Regions from separate parts of the Homo sapiens genome. Here regions 2, 3, 4, 5, 6 and 7 are each linked to region 1. The links are contacts of gene promoters, found by promoter capture Hi-C in blood cells and fetal thymus (Javierre and others, 2016). All regions are on one chromosome and are shown on one strand. Each heading gives the region's core, a stretch centred on a gene start or on the middle of the fragment in contact. The rest is flanking DNA. Distances are from core to core; before and after follow the strand shown.

The links. The method cuts DNA at HindIII sites, captures the fragments that hold promoters and counts their contacts. A CHiCAGO score of 5 or more calls a contact.
Region 2: a contact is called between a fragment that was not itself captured here and the fragment with the promoter of WDR7 in region 1, in 1 of 17 cell types (erythroblasts). The highest score is 5.6, in erythroblasts.
Region 3: a fragment that was not itself captured here is called in contact with the fragment with the promoter of WDR7 in region 1 in 1 of 17 cell types (monocytes); the score reaches 7.0 in monocytes.
Region 4: a contact is called between a fragment that was not itself captured here and the fragment with the promoter of WDR7 in region 1, in 2 of 17 cell types (M0 macrophages and naive B cells). The highest score is 6.3, in M0 macrophages.
Region 5: a contact is called between a fragment that was not itself captured here and the fragment with the promoter of WDR7 in region 1, in 2 of 17 cell types (total CD8 T cells and naive CD8 T cells). The highest score is 6.3, in total CD8 T cells.
Region 6: a fragment that was not itself captured here is called in contact with the fragment with the promoter of WDR7 in region 1 in 1 of 17 cell types (total B cells); the score reaches 5.5 in total B cells.
Region 7: a contact is called between a fragment that was not itself captured here and the fragment with the promoter of WDR7 in region 1, in 3 of 17 cell types (naive B cells, total B cells and monocytes). The highest score is 7.1, in naive B cells.

The regions. Positions count from the first base shown.
Region 1 is chr18:56,649,263-56,653,340 of GRCh38, reverse strand. It overlaps WDR7 (WD repeat domain 7), which reads right to left and starts at 1,982. Exons shown (of 28, transcript NM_015285.3): 1 at 1,765-1,982. RefSeq lists an enhancer at 1,862-2,251. The HindIII fragment of the contact is 1,105 bases long and covers 1,750-2,854 here.
Region 2 is chr18:54,832,432-54,836,509 of GRCh38, reverse strand. All of the region lies in intron 1 of RAB27B (RAB27B, member RAS oncogene family), which reads right to left. Among named protein-coding and RNA genes, the nearest start is that of RAB27B, 6.0 kb to the right of the region's middle. The HindIII fragment of the contact is 3,414 bases long and covers 1-3,390 here.
Region 3 is chr18:55,226,539-55,230,616 of GRCh38, reverse strand. It overlaps TCF4 (transcription factor 4), which reads left to right. Exons shown (of 20, transcript NM_001083962.2): 18 at 1,541-1,770; 19 at 2,256-2,396; 20 at 2,587-4,078. The coding sequence ends at 2,392. Among named protein-coding and RNA genes, the nearest start is that of LINC01929, 100 kb to the right of the region's middle. The HindIII fragment of the contact is 2,029 bases long and covers 1,239-3,267 here.
Region 4 is chr18:55,259,165-55,263,242 of GRCh38, reverse strand. It overlaps TCF4 (transcription factor 4), which reads left to right. Exons shown (of 20, transcript NM_001083962.2): 12 at 1,710-1,777; 13 at 3,216-3,294. Among named protein-coding and RNA genes, the nearest start is that of LINC01929, 140 kb to the right of the region's middle. The HindIII fragment of the contact is 1,458 bases long and covers 1,948-3,405 here.
Region 5 is chr18:58,040,651-58,044,728 of GRCh38, reverse strand. It overlaps NEDD4L (NEDD4 like E3 ubiquitin protein ligase), which reads right to left and starts at 503. Exons shown (of 31, transcript NM_001144967.3): 1 at 21-503. The coding sequence starts at 68. RefSeq lists silencers at 1-418, 439-808 and a cis regulatory region at 2,698-3,110. The HindIII fragment of the contact is 1,925 bases long and covers 1,208-3,132 here.
Region 6 is chr18:55,275,815-55,279,608 of GRCh38, reverse strand. TCF4 (transcription factor 4) reads left to right here. Exons shown (of 20, transcript NM_001083962.2): 9 at 1-58. Among named protein-coding and RNA genes, the nearest start is that of LINC01929, 150 kb to the right of the region's middle. The HindIII fragment of the contact is 8,285 bases long and covers 1-3,794 here.
Region 7 is chr18:55,294,023-55,298,100 of GRCh38, reverse strand. All of the region lies in intron 8 of TCF4 (transcription factor 4), which reads left to right. Among named protein-coding and RNA genes, the nearest start is that of TCF4-AS1, 160 kb to the left of the region's middle. The HindIII fragment of the contact is 1,301 bases long and covers 1,059-2,359 here.

The DNA.
Region 1 (4,078 bases), core at 733-3,232:
AAGCTAGTCAGGAGGCTGAGGCAGGAGAATCGCTTGAGCCCGGGATGGGGAGGTTGCAGTGAGCTGAGATCACGCCACTGCACTCCAGCCTGGGCAATAAGAGCGAAACTCCATCTAAAAAAAAAAAAGAAGAACGAAAAATGCAGGCAGGGGAGATGCCTTGAACAGCCCATTGAATTGAGTAAGATTAACTCCATCCTCTGCACCTGAGGTCCAAAATGAACTTTAAGGACTCATACATCTAATAAACATCACACCACTAAAGCTAAATGTCATCCTACCCCTCTCACGAAGAAAACACAAAACAAGCTCACTACTTTGAAGATTTTCGATGCTAAGTGTGTTACATGGAGAAACCACCCAACTTCCTTTAACTTCAAAACGGAACATATATCAAAGATAAAAGGAAACTGTAAGATACAAGGGTCACTACCCCTAAAATTTAAGTTAAATTCTTACAGGGATATTCAAACCAAGCCAAGCCCAGTCCCTTTGATTCACCCAGTCACCGAGATCTTTTAAAATTTAGTTACAGGTGGCAATAAGAAAAAATAAAGGGCATACTCTCATTTTTCTCTTAAAGTATTTCTCTGAAACACTCTTAAAATAAGGATTGGCAGTAAAATAAATGAATTTTCTACCATAATCCCTAATTGACATTAATAATAAAGCATTAATTATATTTATAGTGGTTCGTTTTCCCAATTTATAATAACTAATATGTATTGTTCTGGATGGAACTAGACAGTTTTTTATTCTTTGTAATAATGAGGGCATTTCAACACATTATGTTCACTTTTAAGCTGACCTTCATACAGCCACGAGTTTGTTTATAAAGCAAGAAGCAGAGTCAAACTAAAATTTTTGTTTTACAAAATGTCAAAAACTCAGTTAATTTCTTTCATACAACAGGCAATTCCTGCAACCTTGCCCATAAAATCCTAAGACATAAACACCTGAAAGAGTCAGTTTGCCTTTTTTTGTCTCATGGCAAATATTACAGTGAGAGGAAGCTATAGCTGCCACTGACCGAACCCTAAATTCAGCAGCATCAACAATATCAATGCAGCCTGTCATGCGACGGTAGGTTCCCTAGTTTCAGACTATCTAACCCAGCAAATTCTGCCTCAAAAAGTGACATACTAAGTGGGTAAAAAACATAAAACAGCAATTTTTGAATCAAAGTTAGGGTAGTGCTGACTTCAAACATAGCTTCAGAACGCTGGGACCCATCACTAAGTGAATGGGAGTGACTGGCATCCGCTCAGACAAGTACTAGGGCAAAGGGATAAGAACTGGCAGATGGCATCTCAAAAATGAAATTCTAACAGTGGTGTCAGTACCTTGGGCATGGGCAAAAATAGTACCAACAGGAAAGGAAAGACTATATGAACCCCAAAAGCAAGCACATCGCCCAAAATTGCTGTCAATAACCACCAACGATCATCACCAATCACCTGATCCCGTTTAGATTGCACCTGGGAACCAGGCAGTCCCACCTCAAGACCAAAGCAACTGTCACAAGTAGCAAATATCACTCACCAGGCAAGGGAGCCACAAAGACCCCCGGCTGGCCCCCACGCTCTTGGTAACGGCGCCTACTTTTGGGCCCGACCTGCAGGCTTGCAGCCGCAGCGATCTGACAGCTAGCACCGCCCCCGGCTAGAGCGGGTTTGTGACCTTTGACCCCTGACCCCTGACCTCCACGGTGCAGGAACATCCCGCCCTGTGGTTTCCCATGGAGAAGCTTGAAAGCCCCCTTACCTGTCACAGCTTCATCTCATGCCGCGATGTAGCCTATCAGACCGCCGGTGGGCGCCCCAGCCAAGGAGGACAAGGATAGGGCGGAACTACGGAGGATGCGGGGTGCGTAGATCCTGCTGGGATAATCCGTGGGGCGGCAAGCGCTATACAGCCGCCGTCTCCCCAGTGATACTGCAAGGTGCCGGTGCCGCCGCCGCCGCCACTGCAGTAAATCAGCTGACACCAGCCCCAACTGCCGTGACTTTCGCTGCAACTGTCGCAAAAATGAGGGGGCGGGAAAGACTCACCATTTCCCTACTTGCAAGGCCTAAGCCGGCGCCGAGAGAGCCAGCCGCGTTACGATGGAGACCGAAAGTGGAGAAAAGGCCAGCTGTGGGCAAGGAGTGCACGGCCGCCATCTTGGTTGTGGGAAGTCTCGTCTAGGCTGTCCTCTCTCCAGTTGGGAGGACCAAGATGGAGCGAAGGATGAAGTAGCAAGTGCACGTCTTTCTTGGGAGCAGGATGTTGCGCAAGTTTACACTTCTGACCCCATCACACTGCTTCCCACTGAGATGCAAGAGGTAGGGAATTCCCTAAACACTGGAAAGTATGTTGGATGCTGGAAAGCTAAAAAGAATGACAAATGTCCCCCAAGATAGATAAGCTATAGTATAGTGCAGGATGAGAAATGCCAAATAAGGAGCAAGGAAGAAAAGAGATGAATTATTTCTAGGTTGGGGTAAGGAAGGATAATCACATTAGGTCATATGGAAGTCTAGAAAAATTGGTCAGATTTGGAATAATAATTGGGAAAGGAAAACAACTTTGTCACCAGCATTGAAATGTAAAACATGAATATATGCAATAAATAGAAAGTTAAATTTGGAAGAAATACAAGGGACGTGAAGTAGGTGAAGTGGGAAAATGTGGTATCAGGGCTTAGCTGTTTCTGCTCCGTGAGCGGCTCCTTTAACAGGCAGTCTATGCCCTGGAGCTCTCTTGTGGGTTGATAGAGACTTCATCACATTCGGCCTAGACCAGGTAATAAAAAAGTAACATGGAAAAATAGAATAATGTAGATAACAAGAGGCTTTTAGTGGCCATATAAGCTTTTTGGTCTTTATTCCAAAGACAATGAAAAGTAATTGAAGACTTTTGACTAATAAATAGTGTAGCACTTTTCCTAACCACATGGTATTCAGGTTTTTAAAATTGCTTTACAACAAATTATCACAGTCTTAGTGTCTTAGTGGCTTAAAGCAACACATATGTATTGCCTCACATTCCATGGGCAAGGAGGTCAGGAACAGGTTAGCTGAGTCCTGTGCTCATGCTCTCACAAGGCTACAAGTGGATGTCAGCCAAACTGCAATTCTCATCTGGAGGCTCAACTAGGGAAGAATCTGATTCCAAACTCCTGTCAGCTCATTCAGTTCCTTGTGGCTGTCTGACTAGGGGCCCTGGCTTCTTACTGGCTCTGAACTGGAAGTGGCCATCAGGTCCTAGCAGCCACCCACAGTTCCTTACCACATGGGCCTTACTAAAGGCTCTCTCGCAACATGGCAGCATACTCCTTCAAAGCTAGCAAGGAGAATCTCTCTACTGAGCACAAGAAAGGAGTCACACAGATATAGATACAGCCATGGATATGGACATGGACATAGATATGGAAATGGATGTAGATGATAACCTAAATTAGGGAGTGACAGCCATCACCTTTGCCATATATTATTGGTTAAAGTAAGTCACGGGTTTTATCTGTACTCAAGGAGAAAGGATTATACAAGAGTGTGACTTATCGGGGTCACTTAAGATGGGCCAGCCACAAATATTAATTTGGCAGCAATGTGCCATGTAAATCAGGTGGGAAATACAGGGAAGCAAGGAGACAAGTGAGATGTCGTCATTGTTGTTGTAACCAAAAATGTATGGTTATCACTGCAAAAGAATCATAAATGAGACCCACAGGATAAAATCGGGAATTTCACCATTTTAGAGGCATATATATATATATTTTTTGAGATGGAGTCTTGCCCTGTCACCCAGGCTGGAGTACAATGGCACCATCTCAGCTCACTGCAACATCCACCTCCTGGGTTCACGCAATCCTCCTTCCTCGGCCTCCCGAGTAGCTGGGATTGCAGGTGCACACCATCACACCTGGCTAATTTTTTTTATTTTTAGTAGAGATGGGGTTTCACTCTATTGGCCAGACTGGTCCCGAACTCCTGGCCTCAAGATTGGCCTGTCTCGGCCTCCCAAAGTGTTGGGATTACAGGCGTGAGCCACCACACCCAGCTTTAGTGGCATTTTTAAAACTTAAGTACTACTCTGT
Region 2 (4,078 bases), core at 434-2,933, 1.8 Mb after region 1:
TACGATATTGATTTTAAGAATCAACCTCACTGCTCTGGACTACTTAGACCTTGAAGGCTTTGTTTTACTAAAATCACTAGAATCTAACACCATCTAGAACTGAAGAATGGGAAACTGGTTTCTGGGTCCCTGGCCTCATGCATAAGTCTACCTTAAAAGTCAAAGTGAACTTTGAAAGGGTGAAAACTGTAAGGAATCAGAACCATGGAAAATACACTTGATAAGAAGATCTGCTGGGAAGCAGAATAACAATATAATTTGAGGGAAATTCATCTTCAAAGCAACTCAGTTATTATCATTTAATCACTTTCCAAAGAAAACCGCAATGTAGAATTTTATGACTTCCTCAGAGCTTGCACAGGAAACAGATGCCCAGCAAGGTTTCTCCAAGTCTACAAAGGACACAAAGCCTGCAGGTTGGTGTACCTGCACCTAGTGATCAGTATGTTCTGTCTTTATCCATTTTTCATCTCCTCCTCACCTTTATCTAAATATAAGCTGCTCTGTAATCACAGATGCATAAATTCTCATCAAGTACGTACATTCCTGAGGGCACCCAAATTAAGCGTGTTCAGAAACAATACTAATGAGTACTTGCTGGGTGCATTTTACTTTTGTCTTCTTGGTTTTCCTAGTAGGTAAGTGAAAAAATAAAATACAGCAAAGGAGATCTGGGGAGATTGTATAGGCCAATTTCAAAATAAGTAGCATCTGATGATGGCCTAGTGACTTTACACGAGAAAAGCAAACCCAAAGTTGCTCATTTCATCTTATTACTATTACTGCTATGCAGGCTTCATCAACTAGCATCTTGCTTCCAACTGAAGATTAAAGAATAGACTTTTCAAACATGATGGCCTATTTATTTAAGTCTGTTTTATTACGTTTTAACCCTCGGTTATAAATATGAGAATATTTTCGTTACAGCAATTTTTTCCTGTAACGTATGTTTTGCAGTGTTGTTTCCTAGGTTCTTCCTAATAGAAGCGTTTACTTCCAAACCTTGAGAGGCAGTATTTGAGAATAGGTATTACAAACCTTAGGAAGATTAAGATCAAAGATTGAGTGAGAAAGGGATAGATATAGGGACTGGGAATTACAGTTTCCATACAGTTAGCTGTGATATCTATCTTTAGTTCGCTTAAAGAATTAATAAATTTGCAAACAGGTTGCATTGCTCCTATATTTTGCAGCATTTGGGAGAAAGTTCCAGAAAATTAGAGGCTTAAGTTACTCCAAGGAGGCACCTGAGTCAATATGTGGCACCTCTTAATATTAGAAAACGTGTCTACTTTTTCAAAGGCACTAAGACATGACTAGTTTCTCTTTCCCTCTGAAAAATCTAATTTCATTTTGTATTTTTAATATTTATATATGTACAGGAACACTTATCAACAGTCCATTTTGTTTATGAAAATAATATATTTTGAATAATAGACCATAAGAACTGAATAATTCATTTAATGAACTTCTCAGGCTCTGATTACCTTGCCTAAGTTAGATTGGGCAAATATAATACAAGCTGATTTTGCTTTTACTAATTATTATTGTTCTGGTATATCCCTCAGGTCAGATTTAATACATAATCTCATTTTTTTTTCTGAGCAAGTTAAGGAGAGAAACAAGAAGAAAACAGATTAAGTTGACCCCAAGTTCAATATGATTGAAAATAAATTTATGTGCTAGAACGAAGCCAGAAAGAGGACTAAAATAAAGTCTTATGCTTTTTCCCTAAACGTTTTAAAATGAAATTTTCCCTCTATTATAGAGTTCATATGTTTCTATCTCTTCTTCCATGTTTACATACATGCACACACACACACACACATATATATACACTTATGCACACAGATTTATGTATAACAAAGATAATCTTAGGTAGATCTAAGGTTATCTATCTATTTATCTATCTCTACCTATCATCTATCTAGAGGGATAGACACATAAATGGAAGGAAGAAAAGGAAAAAAGAAGGAAGGAAGTAAACATCAAACAAGAATTATGTGTTGCCCAAGTCTAGAGCTGAACAGTAGGGATGTTAAAATAATCAACCCTTACCTTTTATTTTACACAGGAGAAAATCAAGATCCTTAAGGAGACTGAATGCCCTGTCTATAGTTATACACCACTCAACACTAGCAATATTTGACTAATAATAGACTTCCTACTGGTTTGATTTAAATCCCACCAATATATGAAGTCTATATCTCCTTTCTATGAAACTGTTCCCAAAATTATGTGAGTGGGTCTTGGTATCCTTGAATACAGCTGTAGCTACCTAGAAACGTTTTTCCTGCTTTTCTGGATATTAAACATTTGCTTTATATGGCAGCTACTACTTAATTTGCTTTGATCTGTTTTATATTTTATAACTATACTTTCACTATCAATTCTTAATTTAAAAAATCTAGAACACATTATCAAATATTAAACAAATTGTGTTCTTGTATTTGTAGGATTATAGCTTTGGATGAGAGCTTGAGGGTTGTTTAGTTCAACCTCCCAGTAGAAGTCATCTCTATAACAGCTCTGACAAGTAAGTTTTAGGTTGCTGCACTTCCTGATCTTCATTGGTCTTGTCTAGTTTCTGCAATGACTCTTCCCCATTGGTGCCTCCAGACTCACTTTGTGCCTCTCTCTGCCACCTGCTTTCCATTCTCCAAACTCCTTTTCTCAGTTTCTTGAACGCTCCAAGCTCTTTCCCAGGTTAAGAATTCAGCAAATCCTTTTGCACTGTCTGGTTTGTTCTTTCTCAACCCCTTCACCTGACTAGCAACCAGGCAACCTTTAGGTCTCAACTGAAATGCCCTTTCCTCACAGAGGTCCTCTTGACAACTTCTGCCATTAGTCTTTCTCATTTAAAGAAGTTATTTGCAGTCACAATAACTTCTCAGCTTTCTTTGATTTTAATTTTCTTTTGGTGTTGTCTAGACCTTCCATTTTGAAGGCTATTTTCTTTCATGTAGAAAGAAGAGGGATTCATGGCCGGGTGCAGTTGTACACACCTGTAATCCCAGCACTTTGGGAGGCCAAGGCAGGCGGATCACCTGAGGTCAGGAGTTCAAGACCAGCCTAGCCAATATGGTGAAACCCTACCTCTACTAAAAATACAAAAATTAGCCTGGAGTGGTGGCACATGCCTGTAATCCCAGCTACTTGGGAGGCTGAGGTGGGAGAATCGCTTGAACCCCGGGGAGGGAGATTGCAATGAGCTGAGATCGTGCCATTGCACTCCAGCCTGGGCAACAGAAACTCCATCTCAAAAAAAAAAAAAAGAAAGAAAGAAAAAAAGAAAAGAAAGAAGAGGGAGATGACCCTTCTTTATTCACTGCTTTGTTTCAAACAATGTGAAAATAATCTTTTGCTCTCCTGAGCATTTTTTCCCAAGCTTCGGCTCACTGTGCATTACTCTTCTTCAAACTATGCTCACAGCTCAGACAACACCTTCGTTAAGTATTTCTAATTATATGTTTCCTTTATTCATCTGTTCTACAAGTCATTTTAAAAAATTGAATTTATTAGAGCTTCTATGTACGTAGCCTCATGAGTTTTTCTGGGGGCCTCTTTTCAATTCTCTTTAGAATTAGGTGAAATGCTATTTTCAGAATTTTTTATAGTTTTTCTGAATATCTTATATTGAGAACTCCATCTCTTTCCCGAGCTGCCAATGATTCCACACCGCCACATGCAATCATCACTTCTCTGTCCTCATCTCACTGTTTATCTTGGCCCTGTCTGACACCATTGACCACACCCTTCATCCTAAAAAAACATCCTGGCTTAGGTTCATGATGACACTCTCTTCCGGTTTGCCTTTCACTTGAATGGCTTTTTACTGACTCCTCCCATACAAGGTCCCAAATGTCCGAATAAGCCAGAGCTGCGTCCTCAAGCCCCAATTTTTTCTCTGTAATCTCTCTCTCAGTGATGTCCTCAAGGATATCACTCTAAATAGTATCCATAGCCACTTGCTTCTCAAATTTCTATATCCAGCTATGATGTCCTCTAGGTGCCCCAGATTCATATATGCAAAAGCCCAAGCTGATAATTCCACTTGGATGTTGAAAAACGCTTCAAA
Region 3 (4,078 bases), core at 1,004-3,503, 1.4 Mb after region 1:
TACCCTTTAGGTTAATTGTTAGTCACTTCCATGGAGTTTCTTGTGATGGGGAGTCTACTGATGTTCAGTGAAGTTTGTTTCATTTTCTGTGTCTCTCATAAGCCCCCCAAAAGTCCTCACTCATGTTTATTCACAATAGTCATTCAGAGCTTTATAGCACGTGCTGCTCTGCCTTCTTGAGACAAGACGTCGTGCACACTTCTCTTTTTTACATGACAGCCCTTGGAATATTTGAACCCTGCTGCTGTGACGACTTCCTCATATGATATGCTTTCCAGGTGGCTCATCATCCTCTTTGCCTTCCATTCAAAAGTTTCTAATTTGTCACTGTAACACTCAGAAATGGACAGAACCGATCTTATCTTTTCAGACTATTCTGGGCCCGGCCATGCATTTGTTATGAATCATGGAATATTTTGGTTTTCACAATTAGAAATTACCTTTTGGCTTTTTTTTTTTTTTTTTTTTGTAAGAGACAGAGTCTGGCTGTGTTGCCCAGGCTGGAGTGCAGTGGCCTGATCACATCTCACTGTAGCCTCCACCTCCTAGATTCAAGTGAGCCTCCCACCTCAGCCTCCTGAGTAGCTGAGACCGCAGGTGTGCATCACTGTGCCCAGCTAATTTTTTTTTATTTTTTGTAGAGACGAGGTCTCACTATATCGTCCAGGCTGGGGTTATAGGCATGAGCCACTGCACCCAGCTTTCTGGCTTCATTTTTGACTCACAATGAGGTCATGGTCATTCATAAGCTGCAGGTGTTTGGTTTGTTGAATCGTTTTGCATGACTGATATCAGTTCAGGTTTCCCAAACTTGTTCTGTGGATCATAAACATCTATAAGATTAAAGACCATGGAAGTCATGTTTTTGTAACTTTTTGTTTAATACATAGAGAAAATGAGACTCACATAGTGGGTTGACCAGGCCTTCAAAGCAAGGTAATGGGGACACCTGAATAAAAGCCTCACTGTCTTCACTCCCATTGCTCTGGTGTCTTACATATAGGCCTTTCTTCTTACTCCTGTTAAGCTGCCTTGTATTTTTTTGACCTATCAAAATCATTTTTCAATTACTTGTTTCCCCTAGATTTCAGATGTCACGGTATGAAAGGTTTTATATATATTTAAAAAATAAAGTATAAACATAAAGTCTTTTTGAAGCGTGGTTATGCAACATATGCTAGGCGTAAGTTGGTGAATGCCTGCTTTGCAGAGTGTAACCCCATTGAATAAAAAAAGCTTTGTTTTCCCTTTCTGCCCCCCTGTATCAGTATGGGCACACCCTGCACTCTAACTTTAATCTACGTCACCCTCACCTGTTTGGTTTGGGTTTAATGTCTGCGAGAAAACCAAATATCTTGTGTATTGTGAACTGTCAAAGCCATCTAAACCAATCCCAAGGTCAAGTGGATATAAAAATTCTGCCAAAAACATGGCATAAGATGGAAAAGTTCCCTGAAAACTCTGGAAGAAAACAAAGTAATGTAGACACCTTCTTTTTCCCCACACCATTAGAAAATGTTGCATCCCTTTTGTCCCACAGCAATAATGACGATGAGGACCTGACACCAGAGCAGAAGGCAGAGCGTGAGAAGGAGCGGAGGATGGCCAACAATGCCCGAGAGCGTCTGCGGGTCCGTGACATCAACGAGGCTTTCAAAGAGCTCGGCCGCATGGTGCAGCTCCACCTCAAGAGTGACAAGCCCCAGACCAAGCTCCTGATCCTCCACCAGGCGGTGGCCGTCATCCTCAGTCTGGAGCAGCAAGTCCGAGGTCAGTGCAGGCCAGCCTCCTTGCAGAGCTCGTGAGGAGCTTGTGGCAGGCACAAGCTGAGATGGGCACGCCAGTCTTGAGCAGTGGCAGACAGTAGACTTTCAAGCATCATTCCAAAGAATTGTTTCCATTGCAGACTGTGTCTAAATCCATAAGGCAGCATCCCTTTCTCCTGTAATTAAGTTGTGGGATTCTCTTATAACTAAGATTATATTGCAACTTTCCCTATATCCTTTCAGTAATTTGAGCTTAGTTTATTTGCTTTACCAACCTTTGCTTACTGTAAAGTGGCTGTACACACTCACATGCAGTTCACCTTTTACTAGTGACTGACCAAATGGATTGCCACAGTACTTAGTAACTGTTCCTTTTGTTCTGTAATATAAACACTGAGAAAAAGGTCAGACACGCAAGAAGAGTGCATTGCTGCCCTCTGCCAGAAGCCTCAGCATTAAACAAAGGTTCTGTGCTTTAATCCTCCACAGAAAGGAATCTGAATCCGAAAGCTGCGTGTCTGAAAAGAAGGGAGGAAGAGAAGGTGTCCTCAGAGCCTCCCCCTCTCTCCTTGGCCGGCCCACACCCTGGAATGGGAGACGCATCGAATCACATGGGACAGATGTAAAAGGGCAAGTTTGTTTTCAGCCATTTCTGAGATCGATCATTCAAAACTCTCATCAGTGTATCAGCCATAAAAGTGAATTTCACCCAAATTGACAGATATTTTCTTTCATGGAAAAAGAATTTTTTTTAAAAAAAGCATACTTTTTCTGTTACAAATATATTAATGAATTTTTTCTCTCTTTTTTCCTTTCTCAGGTCCAAGTTGCCACATTGCTTCATTAAAACAAGAGACCACTTCCTTAACAGCTGTATTATCTTAAACCCACATAAACACTTCTCCTTAACCCCCATTTTTGTAATATAAGACAAGTCTGAGTAGTTATGAATCGCAGACGCAAGAGGTTTCAGCATTCCCAATTATCAAAAAACAGAAAAACAAAAAAAAGAAAGAAAAAAGTGCAACTTGAGGGACGACTTTCTTTAACATATCATTCAGAATGTGCAAAGCAGTATGTACAGGCTGAGACACAGCCCAGAGACTGAACGGCAATCTTTCCACACTGTGGAACAATGCATTTGTGCCTAAACTTCTTTTGGAAAAAAAAAATATAATTAATTTGTAAGTCTGAAAAAAAAATATTTAATTTAAAAAAAATTGTAAACTTGCAATAATGAAAAAGTGTACTTCTGAAGAAAACTACATGAACGTTTTTGTTGGTATTCAAGTCAGCTAGTGTTTATAATTACTGGATATTGAATTAGGGGAAGCTCGGCTGCCCTAGTAACAAAACCAGCAAACGTCCTGATGACAACGAAGTGATGACATTAGCCATTCCTTAGGGTAGGAGGAACAGATGGATCTTATAGACCTATGACAAATATATATATAAATATATATATAAATATATATTAAAAATTTAGTGACTATGGTAAGCTTTTGTTCATTTGTTTCAGACTTTTTTCTCCTGTAAAAAAATAGTACTGATTAACTTTTTTAAAAGAAAGATTTTACTGTAAATATGGATTTTTTTTTTTTTGGTCTTATTTCTGTCCCTTTCCCTGGTTTGTTATCGTAACCTGTAGTGCCAACTCTGCTTCCAGAGGGGTAGTGCAGGATGAAATGCTGACCCTGATGTTGCTTCTCATTCATAAATAAGTAGAAAGTTGTTTCTCCAGTCTTTTGGGAACACAGGACTTAAAAGTCACATCATGTGTAGATATTACAAGCAGCATTACCAAGACATGGCAAAAAGAGTTTGTCTGAATTGTAATGTTGCGTTTGTGAACCTATTCTGGGATTTTCAGAGGTACAAGGTTAGAATGCTACAATGTTACCACTGTGCCTTCCAATGTTTATATCATCGGAAACATAACATAATCAAAGTGGCTGTGATTTAACAAAATGATTAAAGTGTTACCTACCTGTGTAGCCGAAGTAGTGTGCAGTGAGGCGTTTCTGAATACATGGTCAGATTTTTGGAAAAAAACAAAAACAAAAAAAACAAGTAAAGTTCAAAAACCGTCAAATGAGAAAATTGCAAGTAGTGTGACAGAGCTGATTGATTTTGTTGCTTTCTTGATTTTTTTTTTCAAAATGGGTTTACTAAAATGTAGATGACTTAACTGCCTCCTCCTTCGTCTGAAAAATGCCAATATTCAATCATCATGCAGCATTATAACAAGCCTTATAAGTCCTAAAGCATTAAGTTGCACTTTTTTGAGGAGGGGTAGTGCAGTATTTCTCTGG
Region 4 (4,078 bases), core at 1,427-3,926, 1.4 Mb after region 1:
GATATGGAAGTTTATTTTGTCACGAGATAATTGTGTTCTTCTTATCATGTGCCAGATTTCTTTCAGTATTTTAGCAATTAACAAATAAATATGGGTGTGGGTTTTGTAAACCAAATAAAGTATATATCAAAACATTATCGGCTGGGCACCGTGACTCAGTCCTGTAATCCCAGCACTTTGGGAGGCCAAGGTGGGTGGTTCATGAAGTCAGGAGTTCGAGACCAGCCTGACCAACATGGTGAAACCCTGTCTCTACTAAAAATACGAAAATTACTTGGCGTGGTGGCGTGTGCCTGTAATCCTAGCTACTCAGGAGGCTGAGGCAGGAGAATTGCTTGAACCCGGAAGGCAGAGGTTGCAGTGAGCCGAGATTGTGCCACTGCACTCCAGCCTGGGCAACAGAACAAGACTCCATCTCAAAACAAAAAAGAAAACTCATCTGACAAACTCAACATATAAATATATGAAAATAACAAGCATAAATTAGCTATGCTAAGCAGAGGTCAGGAGAATTAAATTATGACCTGGAAAAGCCATAGAATTGGACCACTGAAGATCCGACCCCACTACTGCATTTTACAAGTGTGGAAGGTGATGACAACACATTTGTAAGAAAGAAGGCTCTCTTAGTTCAAGAATGGGGCTGGAAAGTCTTTGAAATTATATACCTGTTTAATGAAGTTTTGCTTGGATTCATTGGGTGATTTAACCTTTCCTTTTCTTATTTCACAAAATAGTGAAAAACAATCTTCCCTCAGAACTTTAATAGGTTTTATTTAGATACTATGTCTATTTGCTAATGTTGAGGCTTTAGTAAATACAACATACCCCAAGTGCTAGGCATTCTGTTAATACTGAAGACCACAAGAATCCTGGAAATCCCATTTTATCACTTAGTTCTAAAGGCAAGATACCTTCCAATGATACATGTTAAAGAAAGCTGGCTTTGAATTGTATACTGTAATATATGTCTTTTATTATTCACAATACTCTTTGTTCTTCTCTTTTGTAGATAAAAATACCAGTGTTTAAGGCAGTAGAGATAAGCTTCATGAATATGTAGACTTACTTTATCTCTGGAATTCGAGGCCATATTGACTTTTAGTAGCATACCAGTTCACTTTTTTTAGTGTGAACACAGACTTTTAAATATGTGGAGAATATATGTTATTTAAAACATTAAAAATATTTTCTCTCCTTGTTAGCCAGACCTGTTGTGGAAATTTTTGTTTGTTTGTTTGGTGTACTGTAGGACTGTGAGACGAATACCCCGTTTTGCTATGTATCAAATTTCTATTTATTTGAAAACAGATGGAAGTTATTTGTGAAGATAATTCCATTTACTATAAAATAATATAAAGAAAAGCCAGACTCTGAGGACTCCAGAGACCTGAAAGTAGTCTATACTTGTCAGCAATGACCGTCACATAGCTTGCTACATTCACCAGCTCATCAACAGCAAGGGGAAAGTCATAGCAAGGAAACCACTTTATCTTTAAACCAAGGTGTCAGGTTTATATTTTATCTGTAAAAAAGTAACATGAATATATTTGACATCTACCTCAGCAAACAAATTAATGCTAATTAAAGATTAATGTGTTGTAATTAGCATTAAAAATGCAATTAAATTGTGAGTAAATGGACCAGGAATAGAAAATTGTTAGACGTCTCACTGCCTGGTTTTCATATTCTGCCTTTTGTTTTTGCAGCAAATAGAGGAAGCGGGGCAGCCGGCAGCTCCCAGACTGGAGATGCTCTGGGGAAAGCACTTGCTTCGGTGAGGAAATATTGACTTTGGACTCCATATGTACCATTGTAAAGGGTGAACTTTAATCAGAAGTGGACATTTGGAATTTTAGAAAATGAATGGCAAATAGCTTTGATTTTTGGAAAATGCTAGCTTTCTTGCATAACAGTCACTGGAAAATTTGAGAAGGCTCTGAAGCTTCCAGTATATAGTCTCTTTCTCTCATCCTCAAAATGGTACTAAGCTGCACTCAATTATGGATGTGGGAATATTCTCCTGGTCTTTGGGTTTATAGGTTTTTTATACTGATGTCTTATTTTTCTCTAAAGTAATATGGGTGCACATTGACCAGCTAAGACTGTCTTAGCAAGGAATAGTTCTAAAACACTTTGAAAGAGGCATTTGAAAAAAAAAAAAAAAAAAAAAGACAATAACTGAGGTCCATGAAGAACTGTCACATAATTGGCACCTGGGGGACTCAGCTTCTCTGCTTTGCCCACCTACTGCCAGAAAGCTAAAATTGAACATTTCTTGCATGTTCCCTGATGACAAAATGGCATACCTTCATTGTCTCAGAGAGTATATCTGGTATTTTAGTCAAAAGCTAAACATGGTCATTTAGAAATGTAAGTGGAGGGCCAGGTAGTGTGGCTCACACTGGTAATCTCAGCACTTTGGGAGGCCGAGGTGGGAGGATCACTTGAGGTCAGGAGTTCAAGACTAGCCTGGCCAACACGGTGAAGCCCTGTCACTACTAAAAACATGAAAATTAACTAGGCATGGGTGGCACATGCCTGTAATCCCAGCTACTCCGGAGACTGAGGCAGGAGAATCGCTTGAACCTGGGAGGTAGAGGTTGCAGTGAGCTGAGATCATGCCACTGCACTCCAACTTGGGTGACAGAGCAAGACTCCATCAAATAAATAAATAAATGTAAGTGGAGATTTCTTTCTCTAAGATTTTGTCTCTTCAGTTGGCTTTTACCATTGAGAGCATTAAAAAAGTTCACACTGTATTAGCATTGTGCCCTAAGTAAAAGTTTTTGTTTCATCTGGGCCTTCTGATGCTATGCAATCAAACGCCTAGATCTGGCAAAAGAGTGGCAAAATATCTTAGGAATGATCCTGTTCAACCTCTCATTGTGTAGATGAGGAAAGGAAAGTTCAAAGTATCTGCTTGGCTTGCCCATAGCCACACAGCCAGTAGGAACGAAGAGTTGGTTTGAAGTCTGCTGACCCCAGCCTGGCTCTTTTCCCACCATCCCATACCACATCAGTAATTCTTGTTTTGAAAAATTAAAATAATTGTTAAGTTCTTCATTTGACAATTTTGGTACTGTAGTTGATTATTACATGTATGCTGTAACTTGTAAGTTCTAAATGAATTGCGTTGACAACTTCGTAGTTTAGAAAAGTGTGAATTATTTTAATGAATGAGGGTGTTTTTTTTTTCTCCTTATTGTTTTAAGATCTATTCTCCAGATCACACTAACAACAGCTTTTCATCAAACCCTTCAACTCCTGTTGGCTCTCCTCCATCTCTCTCAGGTAGTGTATTTCAAATCCCATTTCATCATATAACAGTTTATAAGAATGATTCCCCCCTTGTACTTCCTGATTTTGTAGGTGGAAACTCACTTCCCCCCAAATCCCAAAGCTTTAACATTCCTATAACAGACAAATACAAAGGGTGGGAGAGACAAATTACCAGATAACAGTATAGTCGTTTACATCCAAACCTTTTCTTAAAAATTAGATTATCTTTTTAAAATATACAGGCATATGGAAAATGTATTTCTTACACTTTTCTTAGCTCTGCAGAAGACACCCAACGGCAGAATAATGTATTCCAATAAAACGTCTCAGATGAAAAAAACTCAGTTAATATAGTCATGAATATGAATATAGACTAGATAGTCATCAAATATAGACTATTTAAATGGATCATTTCCTGCAGGAATTTCAGGCTTTCCAAATTCCCTCTTTAAAGTACATGCCATTGGGATGTTTAGAGAAAACTATAATTTTGTAAATAAATTGTGAAATAATTGTGTGGGGTAGAAGGGATGTTTGACTTCAAAGTATAATACATTCGTATGACCTGTGGCTTCAAATTGAATAACTATAATTTGTAGAATTATGTCAGTAAATAATTTCACTTTTCAGGGGTCCGTTTAAGAGACTCATTGTCTTTCCAATATAAATGCTTCCAGAAAGCCTTCCTTGGTTCATGTCTCTGCTCTTTGGTAAGGAGACAGGTGGCTTATTAAAAAAACAAAACAACAGCAACAAAACCTAAATCACATCTGTACCTGATGGAAACCTTACCTTA
Region 5 (4,078 bases), core at 921-3,420, 1.4 Mb before region 1:
AGGAAGGGGGTGCCACTCACCTCGTCTTCGGAAAGTCCATAGACCGGCTCCCCGAGCCCGGTCGCCATGGAGCCGGCGCCCCGCGCGGGGTCTGAGGCGCTCCCAGCGGCTGTGCTGCGGCGCGGACGGCCGGTTCTCCCCTCTGCCTCCAGGTCCCCCCGGTCCCGCACCCTACCCTGCGCACGCCCTGCCGGGTAAGCGGCCGGGCGCCGGCAGGTGAGGGTGCCCGAGAGCGCGCCCTGGACGCTGCCGGCACCGCTTCCTCCCGGAAGGCTGCGGGACCAGCGGGCGGGCGGCTCCCGAGAGCGCGCCGAGCACCGGGCGGCAGCCCCGGCGCCTCTCACTGCGCGCGGCGGCGGCGCAGACCCGGCCGGGCTTTCCCTCCCCGCGACCCGCGCCTCCCTCCCGCCCCGCCGCTCTCCGCCCCCCTCCGAGCCTCCTCTGCGCTCCCGGGGACCCGGCTCGCCCGCCTCCTCGCTAGCGCCGTCCGGGCCCCCGCTCTCTCCGCCCCCTCCTCCGCCTCCTCCCACCGGCGCCGCGAGGGTACCCTCCCCGTTCGCCGGGGCGGGCACACGCGCCCCCCAAGCCAATCACAGGCCGGGCTGGCGAGCGGGCCGCGGGCTGCGGGGGTGGCGGAGTTCAGCCCCACGCCCACCCCGGCCCGGGGCCTCCAGCGCGGCGCGGCGGGGGTCACCCGGCCGCGGGGCGGATCCGCAGGGGCGTGTACTGGCGCGCTTGGCCGGCGCCGCCGACCCTCCCTCCTCTCCCGGTTTCCCTCCGCTTTAGGGAGGGGGCGGGCTGGACGTTTGGGGGCGATAGAGGATTTTGCGAACAATAACAAAAACGCCCTGAGCGTTTCTTCCTCCCGGTGGTCTTTTTACCGAGAGCCCTGAGCTCGCTGTTAACTGTGAAAAGGGGAAAAGATGGATGTTTCTAGACCCCTTTAAATTCTTTGCGGCCCCGACGAGCAGGACTTGGCTACATTGTCAGCTCCCGGGAGCGAGCCGCCCGGCCCGGCTGCCAGCCGAGGAGAGGCTGCCCCAGTGTGGCCGCAAGTCGCCATTGCCTGTGTCAACCTTGCAGGGAACAAAACCAACATAGCGCCCGCCCCGGTTACACACCCACCCACGCGAAAACAGACAGCATGGTTCTTTGAATAAAAAGCAGTTCATTTGTGAGCCGCAACGTGAAATATCAAACTCAAGCTTAAGGTTATCCTTTGCATATGCAAATGATCGAGACGTCTTATTAGCCACCGTAGGATTCTTCCCACCACCCAGCTACCGTTTCTCTAGCAAGCAGTTCATTTAATCCTTCCGATTTATAGGACTGCAAGAGACTACTTTAAATAAGTGAAAGAAATTCGTCAGTCGACTTTTTCGGAAGCCTTTCCTTAAATTTAGATGTTAAGTGCAGTTGGGAGTTCAAAAAGAAAACAGACGCAGAACATTCCATTTGCCTTTGAAAAGGAAACGTCAAAGTGCCTACTTGGGTATTACCAGGATGCATTTAGGATTTTCATTCAAGGAAGTTCAGAGAGAACTCGCGTGACCCGAAGGAATCATATTCCTCGTTGCCAGCTACATAACTAAATATCTGCTGTTCGCCCTGCTAGTTCGTTTTCAAAAGAGCCCACCCATGCTACCTTAAGCTCTCCTTTGCCTTCCTGCAGCATGACTGGCTTAAAACCTGTGCCGTAGAATGGGTTTCCTTTGACGACTTAGCCCCATGGAGTCAACATCCTACTCAGAAGCCTTCTCTAGAAGTCTTGAGCCGTCAAGTCCACAGTACTTACAGGCCACAAAACCCCCAATGAGAACTATTTATGGAGGACTATTTAAAAGTCAGATTTCTGTCCATTCTTTCAATACTGAGGTTTTTCAACCCTTTCAAACCTCGAGTCTTTAGACCGGGCACGGTGGCTCAAACCTGTAATCCCAGCACTTTGGGAGGCTGAGGCGGGCGGATCATAAGATCGGTAGTTCAAGACCAGCTGGCCAATGTGGTGAAACTCCATCTCTACTAAAAATACAAAAATTACCCAGGCGTGGTGGCGGGCGCCTGTAATCCCAGCTACTCGGGGAGGCTGAGGCATGAGGATCCCTTGAACCTGGGAGGCGGAGGTTGCAGTGAGCCGAGACTGCGCCACTGCACTCCAGCCTGGACCACAGAGCGAGACTCCGTCTCAAAAAAAACAAAAACAAAAAAAAACAACCCTAAAGTCTTTTGATAAACAAAAGGTACACGTGCACACTCTGTCTTTCTCTCTCTCTCTCTCACACACACACACACACACACACACGCATTCTCAGATGCCCTTGCCCTAGCCTGTGACCCTCATGGATGGGAGTCAGTGCTTCTCTACCTACCCTCACTAGCCAAACCTTTGTAAAATTTGTACAGTTTATATTATAAAGGAAGAAAAGTAATTGAATAATAATGCTAGCATTTTGGGAGGCAGAGGCAGGAGGATCATTTGAGGCCAGGAGTTCGAGACCAGCCTGGGCAATATAGAGAGACCCCTGTCCCTACAAAAAAAAAAAAAAATTAAAAATTTGCCAGGTGTGGTGGCATGGGCCCATAGTCCTAGCTACTCAGGAGGCTAAGACTAGAGGTTCACTTGAGCCCAGAAGTTCAAGGTTACAGTGAGCTATGATCGTGCCATTGCACTCCAGCCTGGATGACAGAGAAAGACCCTGTGTCTCTAAATAAATAAATACATAAATAAATAATTCTTAAAATGTGCTGATAGAAAATTATAATTTCTAATTACACAGGACACGCCTTCCACATCCTGGAGGTACACAATTCCAGGCTTCGCCTTTGGGTAAGGCTATGTTATCTGGAAACTGTAGAGGGGTGTGGCAGTTTCTCTTCCTGTCTTTTATCATCTACTCCCACACACCCACCGCAACAGCCTATAGCCCTGCACTCAGGGTCATGTCCTTGTCTTTCCCTGAGGGATGGTTATTAGGAACTATAATATGAAACTTGCCATATGTCACTTATTGTGGGGTGTTTATAAAATCGTGATCCATGACATCAACATCCTCTGTGAGAAGACTAATAAACTAGACATTTATTTCAGATCTATGAAGAAAAGCTCTTTTGCTTTCAAGAAACTGGTAAGCTTTTGCATGGCAGATGACCAAAATTATTAAAACCGACTGTGTTTTTCTATCTACTTTGGCCACCAGGAAGCTCAGAACCAGTTTCATGGTCTTAAGCCATAAAAGAACCCATTAAAAAAAATCCCTTTTGTAACTATATACCAACTTTCCCCCAGTGCTGTGGTTCTCTACTCAGCATGTACATTGCAATCACCTGGGGAGCTTTCAAATAGACTAAGTGCCCGGTAACCAGCATCAGAGGCTATGATTTAATGGATTCTGACATCAGTAGTTTCAACAGCCTCCCAGGTGATGCTAATGTGCATTTAAGGCTGAGAACATCAGCTTAGTTTCCAAATTTTGCTATACATAGAAACATTTGGGAATTTTTACTACTGCTCCTCTCTGCCTCCCACTCCCAGGCGTTATGATTTAATTAGTACAGGGTGCCACATGGGCATCAGGAGCTTTAAAAGTTCCCCAGGTGATCCTAATGCACCACTGCCAAGTTTAGAGACATCTGGCCTAGATTTATATTACTATTCTTTTTTTTTTTCTTTTTCTTTTCCTTTTCCCCGAGAGACAAGTTCTTGCTCTGTTGTCCAGACTGGAGAACAGTGGCATGATCACAGCACACTGTACCCTCAAACTCCAGGACTCAAGTGATCCTCCCACCTCAGCCTCCCAAGTAGCTGGGACTACAGGAGCACACCATTGTACCGGCTAAGGTTTTTTGTTTTTTGTAGAGATGGGGTCTCCCTTGCCCAGGCTGGTCTCGAATTCTAGGCTTCAAGTGATCCTCCCACCTTGGCCTCCCAAAGTGTTAGGATTACAGGCATGAGCTACTGAGCCCAGCCTATATGCCTTTTCTTTATATATTTTCCACCACTCTGTTTTTTCATTCGTTTTTTTTCAACTTAGAGGAAATTGCATGTTATAAACACACTCAAATCTTTTGTGGAGTGAGG
Region 6 (3,794 bases), core at 1-2,500, 1.4 Mb after region 1:
GGCTATCCTTCCTCCAAACCAGCAACCAGCACTTTCCCTAGCTCCTTCTTCATGCAAGGTAAGATGCTGCTGCTTCTGAGGGAAAGGCCACTGGATAGCATTTTCCTGGGTCACTTAATGTCACAGATGGGGCAGAAGAAATGGAATAGTAGGCAAGTGTAGAATTTTTGAAGTCATGCTCTTCTTAGGAATTGAATTCCTTAAAAATTGATGTATTAATTAAAACTGTACTAAGTCTTTCTTTACAATTAAACCCCTTTAAGCAGTAATGGGTTAAGATTAGATTGATCTGCTTCACTTAGAGCCGATGCTTATGATGGTCTTCCACTCATGACCAACCATTTCAGCATCTTCACCATCCCCAAGACGATGTAGCTGTTTGTTTAGAAGTGGTTCAGCTCCATGTATGTTTTGAACATCCTGGATTTAGCCAACTGGGAACAAGTTGGCCTAATGTATAACCTTATGTAAAATTTTCACCCACTTACTAATTTGTAGGTAAGAACAAGGGTCCAAGATGAAGTAACCTACCACAGACTGGAATATTACATGGTGAAAGCTCTGTCCCAACATAGTAACTGGTTTAGGATAAAAGGCCCAACTTTTGGGGGAGAAGACAAATATAGGAAATTATGGAATTGTCCAGTATGTTTAAATACATGGATGTGTGCCCCCACCCTGAGCTTGTAGTCTTGCTACTGATAGCGTATACCTTTCTGCTGCTCAAAAAAGACCAAGATGTGGCCGAGTGCGGTGGCTCACGCCTGTAATCCCAACACTTGGGAGGCCAAGGCAGGCAAATCACAAGGTCAGGATATCAAGACCATCCTGGCCAATATGGTGAAACCCTGTCTGTACTAAAAATACAAAAAATTAGCCAGGCGTGGTGGTGGGCACCTGTAGTCCCAGCTACTCGGGAGGCTGAGGCAGAAGAATGGCATGAACCTGGGAGGCAGAGCTTACAGTGAGCTGAGATTGCACCACTGCACTCCAGCCTGGGCAACAGAGCGAGACTCCATCTCAAAATAAATAAATAAATAAATAAACAAACAAATAAATAAATGAATTTTTTAAAAAGACCAAGATGTTTGAAATGATAGCAGCTACTTCAAGAATGAACCACTTGGAGGATGCCCCTAAGGGCTCCATCCTGATATGTGTGTGGCACTTATTTTCTAATGTAATTATCTTGTTACCAAGTTAATGCCCTGAATTTAGATGTGGAATTTACCAAGAACCCCTGTGTGCAAAATGTTAACTCTTTTTGCCCAGGTGTGAAAACCTTATTTGTATAAGCCTTGTCTACGGGCCATGGGGTTTCCTTCTTTATGCATCTCTAGGAAGGGCCATGTCACAGGAAGGGGAGCACATTTGGGGCAAAGAGTACCAGGGAAGCAGCCTGATATAGTGGACACACTCAAAATCATTCTCATTAAAAGATACTAATCTTCCTTCCCTTCAGTGTGTTAGCTCTTTTAGTTTGTTAGTTCACGTGTGAAATTCCATGGAAATCTATAAAATTGGATGGAATGGCTCTGTTAGGAATAGAGAGAATTTGTTCCACGCATAATAGAGCCCGTGTGTCAGAAGTCCTTTAACTTTGTGACCCGTCCTAGGTGTAACTCAAAGGGACACAGCAGGCTATGTCACCTGGGTGCGTTTTGTGCCGTGACAAAAAGCTAATCACCTTCAGTTATAAACAGTAGCTACCTCAGCATCAGTCCCCTGTTTTGTGAGCAGTGGGAGATATTGTCCTACAGGAGCTTACAGAGATTGGCAACTCAAGGATCCATCACTCAAAACAGATTTCGATTGAAAACATTGACGGAAGGATATATTTTTTCTATCTGCCCAGGAAAGTGGCTTTCTGGAAGGGTGCACATTGCAGGAGAGGCCAGGTAGATTATATCAGTAGGCTCCTTTCCCTAGCAGACCACACAAAATATGGGGAACAAATTTGTTTATCTGCATATGCATACCCGAAAAGCAAAAAAAAAAAAAAAAAATTGAGTTGACATTTTTGATGAGCACAATTAATTTGCACACATCTAATTCTATTCTTTCTTTCAAAAGAACATTATGCCAAGATCATGGGATGTGATAAATATTAATTTACTGTGAAAAGCATAATTTATGTAAAATATGTATTTTTATAAGTCTGCATCAAGCAGAGTACTCTGTGTTAACAGTCCTAAACGCATTGCCACCCAGGGTATCACATTGTCAGGAGACTCTTGTTTAGTGATATATGTTTTCAATTTATTTGTCATATGTGCCATCTATTTAAAATGTTAGTGATCTTGAACTTCATATTTGAATTTAAGGTGACATTTAAACCTCTGTAATCTAAGGACTAAAGCTCAAGTACATGAATGATAACTTTAAAAAAAATCATGTGTTTTCACATGATGGCCACAGAAACAGTTGCATCATGGTCCTGTCCCACATCAGCTTCCTTTCAGTAGAGGGGTACTTGGTGCCCTGAGAATTCAAGACTTGAAGGAATATGCAATTAAGGTGAAAGATGTTCAGAAACTGTCTGGGGCATATTGTAAACTCACTACTGTGGCCTCTTATTTGTAACTTCAATTTCCATCTTCTAGTTAAAACTCTGAAGTTGTCAAAATCACAGACATGATTTTGCTTGCATGGTTCTTAAAGAGAGGAATCTGCAAACTATTCCTCCCAATATGAAATGAGTCCAGTTACAAAATTCTAACTTCCGGATTTAAGAACTCAATGAAAAAGAGCTTCACGAAATACAGTGTCAGATTTAACTTTTCTATTGCCTAACTTTTTAATAGGCCTTTACTATATAAAATGTTATGGTGAAAATAATCTTATTTTCAAGGAAGCAATATCTGCTATACATTTAACAGCCAGCTGATGGCCTAGTGTATACCTAGTACTCAATACTTTTTGTTAAACTATTGAAACAAAGAAAAAATGAATGAATTTAGCAGTAATGTAGATCATCTTTTCCCTTAGGCTTGGGAAACCAAACCTAAACATTAGCAATCATTAATAATAACCTGTAGGCCAATAGGCCCAGAGAATGAAAAAATCCGTAGGGATGTTTTTAATAAGAATGTTAACAAAAGGTTAACCTTATGTTGAAAGATACTTTATATAATTTTAAACCTCTATAATTCATAAATCGTTTTATAAAATCCAGAGACTCTCAAAAATATCTGTAATATAATAGCTACCTAGGGCATGTTTGTACCCTTTGGATTGCTACTGAAGGTTTAAGATAGCTATATACCTATACACCAAAAAATAAAAATAAAATATCCTAAGAACTATATATTTGAGATTCATCTTCTCTGCATGCCGTAATATAATTATAATTCCAACTTTAATTCTATTTATTGTATATGTTAAAAATGAAATTAAACATTTTCAATCTGAGATTTTTTAAAATTAATACTTCTTTACATGCTTTTAAAACTTGTCAACTTTGTAATTTCTCAAGTACTTTTCACCCCAAAGTTTAGGAACAATTTAACTTTTTAGTTGGTTTTCATAGAAAAAACAGTTAGAAGACTTCTAAGAAATGTTTCCTTTAGCAGTAATTACCTTGCGACTTGACATAATTCATGGTAGAAATATACTCTGTTGTTCTTTTACAGTTCAATTTTTACCAAGAACACTTTAACTTTTTTAAGTGTTTATATTTGTTTGACAATATAGAGCCACTTGGGAAGAAATGATGACTGTCTTCTGATGTAATCAGCTAACCAACACAAAGATGAATAACACAACAGGCAGTCATTTTCAAGTATATGAAAAAA
Region 7 (4,078 bases), core at 460-2,959, 1.4 Mb after region 1:
TGGTTTGCAGATTGAAATTTAGGAAAGCTTGCAGAGGAGCCAATCTTTTTTATATACAGCACCTTTAAAAAAAAGACTGTCCACTACTATTAAAATCTGATTCAGTCTTCTAAAATATTACTACATTCAAGACAACTTTTAAAATGATCAAATTTAGATAGACATCAATGATGTTAAAAGATAAAAGCCCTCCTACATGTAATATATAGTGTCTTAAACCTTATTTTTTAAAAAAGGGATACCACTTTTGCCAAAAGTTTCAATGTAGGGATACTCAAACTGTCCTTGGAAGTCCTAAAAATTGCTAGTTTTTTTTTTGTTTGCTTCTTTTTTTGTTGTTTTTGTTTTTTGTTTGTAGTTATTCACAAATGGAGAAATATTTATAAAATTATATTATAATTTGTAATGCACGCAAACAACCATCAGACCACACTTGAATCAGAGAGTTACAGTTATAAATTGAGGAAAGAGGATGCCAGCACAATGCCTAATGGAGTGAAAAATTGTGCTTATTTTCACAGGACTCTCTTGGAGAGGAGCTAACTACTTTCCTCTCTCTTAATACCCAGACCCTCTCCCTCAGCCCTGACAGCACGTTACAGAATGCATTCACTTAGTGTGTGAAGAGCTAGCTCACCACCTCCCTTTAAGATCTATTCTTGTTATTCATACATTGCAAATTTGTACTTTTGTATCCACAAGGAAGACATTACTAACTTCAAGAAAGGCAGTGTCAATGAGGAGCAGGAAAATACAGTATGATACAAGCCTGCCAATGAAAGAATTATACTCAGACTCTATGCGCTCTGTTAAACAAAATTTGAACCTTTGAGGAAAAAATATTGGGGATTCTGATGAGTGTTTTTACTCTTTCTTTCCTTTTTTTTTTTTTTTCTATTTGGAAATCATGGCTTCCTGATCCTAAGGGATAAAAAAAAAAAAAAAAAAAAAAACCTCAAAGAAAAGACTCAACAGGCTTTCTGGACATCAAATAGTTCCTACAAAACAACATTCTGATGACTTGCATGTAAAGAAATCAGAAACATATGAATTAAGCTTCTCTCGAAATACATATGGGTTGAAAAATAGAGAGAAGTGCTGAGAAAATGTGTTTTGGGTTTTGCTGAGCCCATGACGTTTGAAAAATAGTATGAGACATTGAACAAACACAAAGCATGGCTTGGCTCACCCATTCCTAATATTAGCCTTCTAGTTCAACGGCAAATCAGTTTACCATGTGCCTAAATGTGAGCCACCTTGGTGCACTCCCCCACACTTAATTATATGCAGTTTAAATTTTTTCAATTAGGAGCTCAAAAATAACATTGCATTTCAAGGAAATGCAAATCTTAGCATTTTCTTACCTGGTTTGTTCACCTCAGACCATTTTAGAAAACACCACAGATTATTTCACCTTAGGAGCAGTCACACTGATGTGGCCCTCTTTGATGTGGCTGGCATATAACAGAAGAAACGTATCATTTTTAAGAAACTGGCTCCAAAGACAATATTGCTATTAAATTGAAGCCAAAAACCACTGCAGGTAAAACATGATGAAGATGAAGGACGCCCTCTCTTAGCCATATAGTAGAAGCCCGATCATAGACTCTCACCCTTACACCATGACTTGAGTTCCTGCTCATTTTTATCCCTGAGCTCTGCAGACTTCTAAGCAGTGGAAGTTTTCATTCTCTTTCCCACATTGCACTCAAGAGAGCTAACATGAGAGATTCTAAATCCTGGGATTCCTCTGCATCTGGCTTTAAGTACAGGAGCAGAACACAGGGAATTTAAGGAACAAAAATAGCCAGAGCTTCAGGCTTCTTCCACTGATGGTAAGTCATTGACATGCACTTGGATGAAATCCTGTATCTGTTCTTTGGACTAGCACTATCGCCTGAGATTATCAGTTTCAGAGAGTTACAGAGAGGCAGTAGATTTCATCTTTCCTATTTCAGGAGGAGTTATTTTGGTTGTTTAAAAAAAAAAAAAACACTTTAATGTACTTTTCCTAACTCCTTCACTCAGATGGTGGCAAGAAGTTTGACAGAATAAAGTAATTCAGCTAATATTTATCAAATGCCTACTATGAGTGAGCTGTTAGAATATAACCCTGAACAAGACAAGCATGAGATAGGCAAACAGACTATTAAAACCTAGACTGATAATGCATTGATTGGGGTGTACAGGCTCCTTAAGGTAGATATACAAAGGACAACTAGTCCACATTTGGCCTTAGAGGAAGTGAAGTGCAAGGATGAATGGGAATTAAGCTGGCAAAATGCAAGGGTTATAACTGGAAGCAGGGGTGAGCATGGCATATCCGGTGACCCAGAAGTAGTTCAGAATGCCAGAAGCTTATGGTACAAAAGGATAACATAAAAGATGAGACTGAAAAGGTAAACAGTGGCCTGATCAAAAAGCGACTTGTGAGCCCTATTAAGGAGTTGAGATTTTATCATGAATGTGACGAGGAGCCTTTCAAATGGGTATGCCTGAGAAGTAATTGAATTTAAAAGTCAAGACGGATAGGAGGACCTGGAAAACTTAGAGTCAGAGAAGCCAAGGGAGGCAGATCTGACCAGAAGGAGGAAATTGTCAACAGTGTCAGATGTTGCTGAAAGATAGAAGTGACATTTGGCTGCAGCATCCAGGAGGTCTTGAGCAGTTTCATTGAAGTAGTGAGTGTGGAAGGAAGGTAAAGAAGTGGAGAACAGGCATTGCAAGATAATTTTCCATCATCGTCATCATCATCGTCCTCATCACCGGAAAATGAGCATCAATTATCTTATCTACCAGACATAGAGAGTGACCAGGTAAGGAATGACACACCTGCAGCCTGGGAGATTTCAGAAAACAGATCATAAATATAAAACAGAAGACAGCAACACATGGTACAACACATGCAAAGGGCAAAATGAGCAGTGTAGGCCAACGGGATGAAGAACAGAAAGAATTAGGGGGCAGGTGAAATGGGAGAGTTTTTCAAGCAGTCAGTGCGCTTGAGGTTTGCATTCTGGATTGTGCCTCCTTATAAGTCAGTCCAACCTGTTTTTGATTCTCCATCCAGTGGAAATAGGAAACACCATCAAAGATGATGCATAGTCTTAACTTGCCTGTGACTTCTGATTATGTTTCCGAATTTTGGGAGGAAGATTAAAGTCATAAACTGACTCTTGGTTTGTTATAATTTCTTGCAACTGTTATTTTAAAAATCCGGACACAGGCCAAGGCAGGAGGATTCTCTGAGGCCAGGAGTTTGAGACCAGCCTGGGCAACATAGTGAGACCCTGTCCCTACAATAATAAAAGTAAAATAAAAAGAAAATCTGGATGCAGAAACTGAGGTGTAGATAAATATAGCAAGTCAGAGATATTCGTAAATTCTACATCGATGAGTTTCTTGAGAAATTCTGCACACCCAGTGCTGGACAACTGTGGAATTGCAGCGTGATACCTTTCACATCTGGGTCATCTCCATATGATATCTTCTTCCTGGTACAAGGCCAGAAGTTCACCCCACGCACAACACCTATGGAAGCCACTTACGATTCAAAGGACAGTTTTTCTGAAAAAGGGTGCATGATGTATACTTCCCTTCAACACTAAAATTCTGCTGCTTAAACTTTGTAAGTGAAGGAAAGGACTGGTTCTCTTCTACTTTGGCTGTCTTCCTTGTTTCCTATTTATTGGGTGCTTGCTTTGGGCAACCCATTGTATTGGATGTGCTCTAAACCACAATCTTTGCTCCTAAGGAGTCCGTAGTATTTATCGGGGGATACGACCTGGATAATTCATATAAGATATGAATTTCTTTCTTTTTCTTTTTTTTCTTTTTTTTTGAGACAGATTCTCACTCTGTCGCCCAGGCTGGAGTGCAGTGGCGCGATCACGGCTCACTGCAACCTCCGTCTCCTGGGTTCAAGCAATTCTCATGCCTCAGCCCCCCAAGTAGCTGGGATTACAGGCACCCACCACCATACTCAGCTAATTTTTGTATTTTTAGTAGAGATGGAGTTTCACCGTGTTGGCCAGGCTGGTCTTGAATTCCTGACCTCAAGTGATCCGCCCACCTCGGC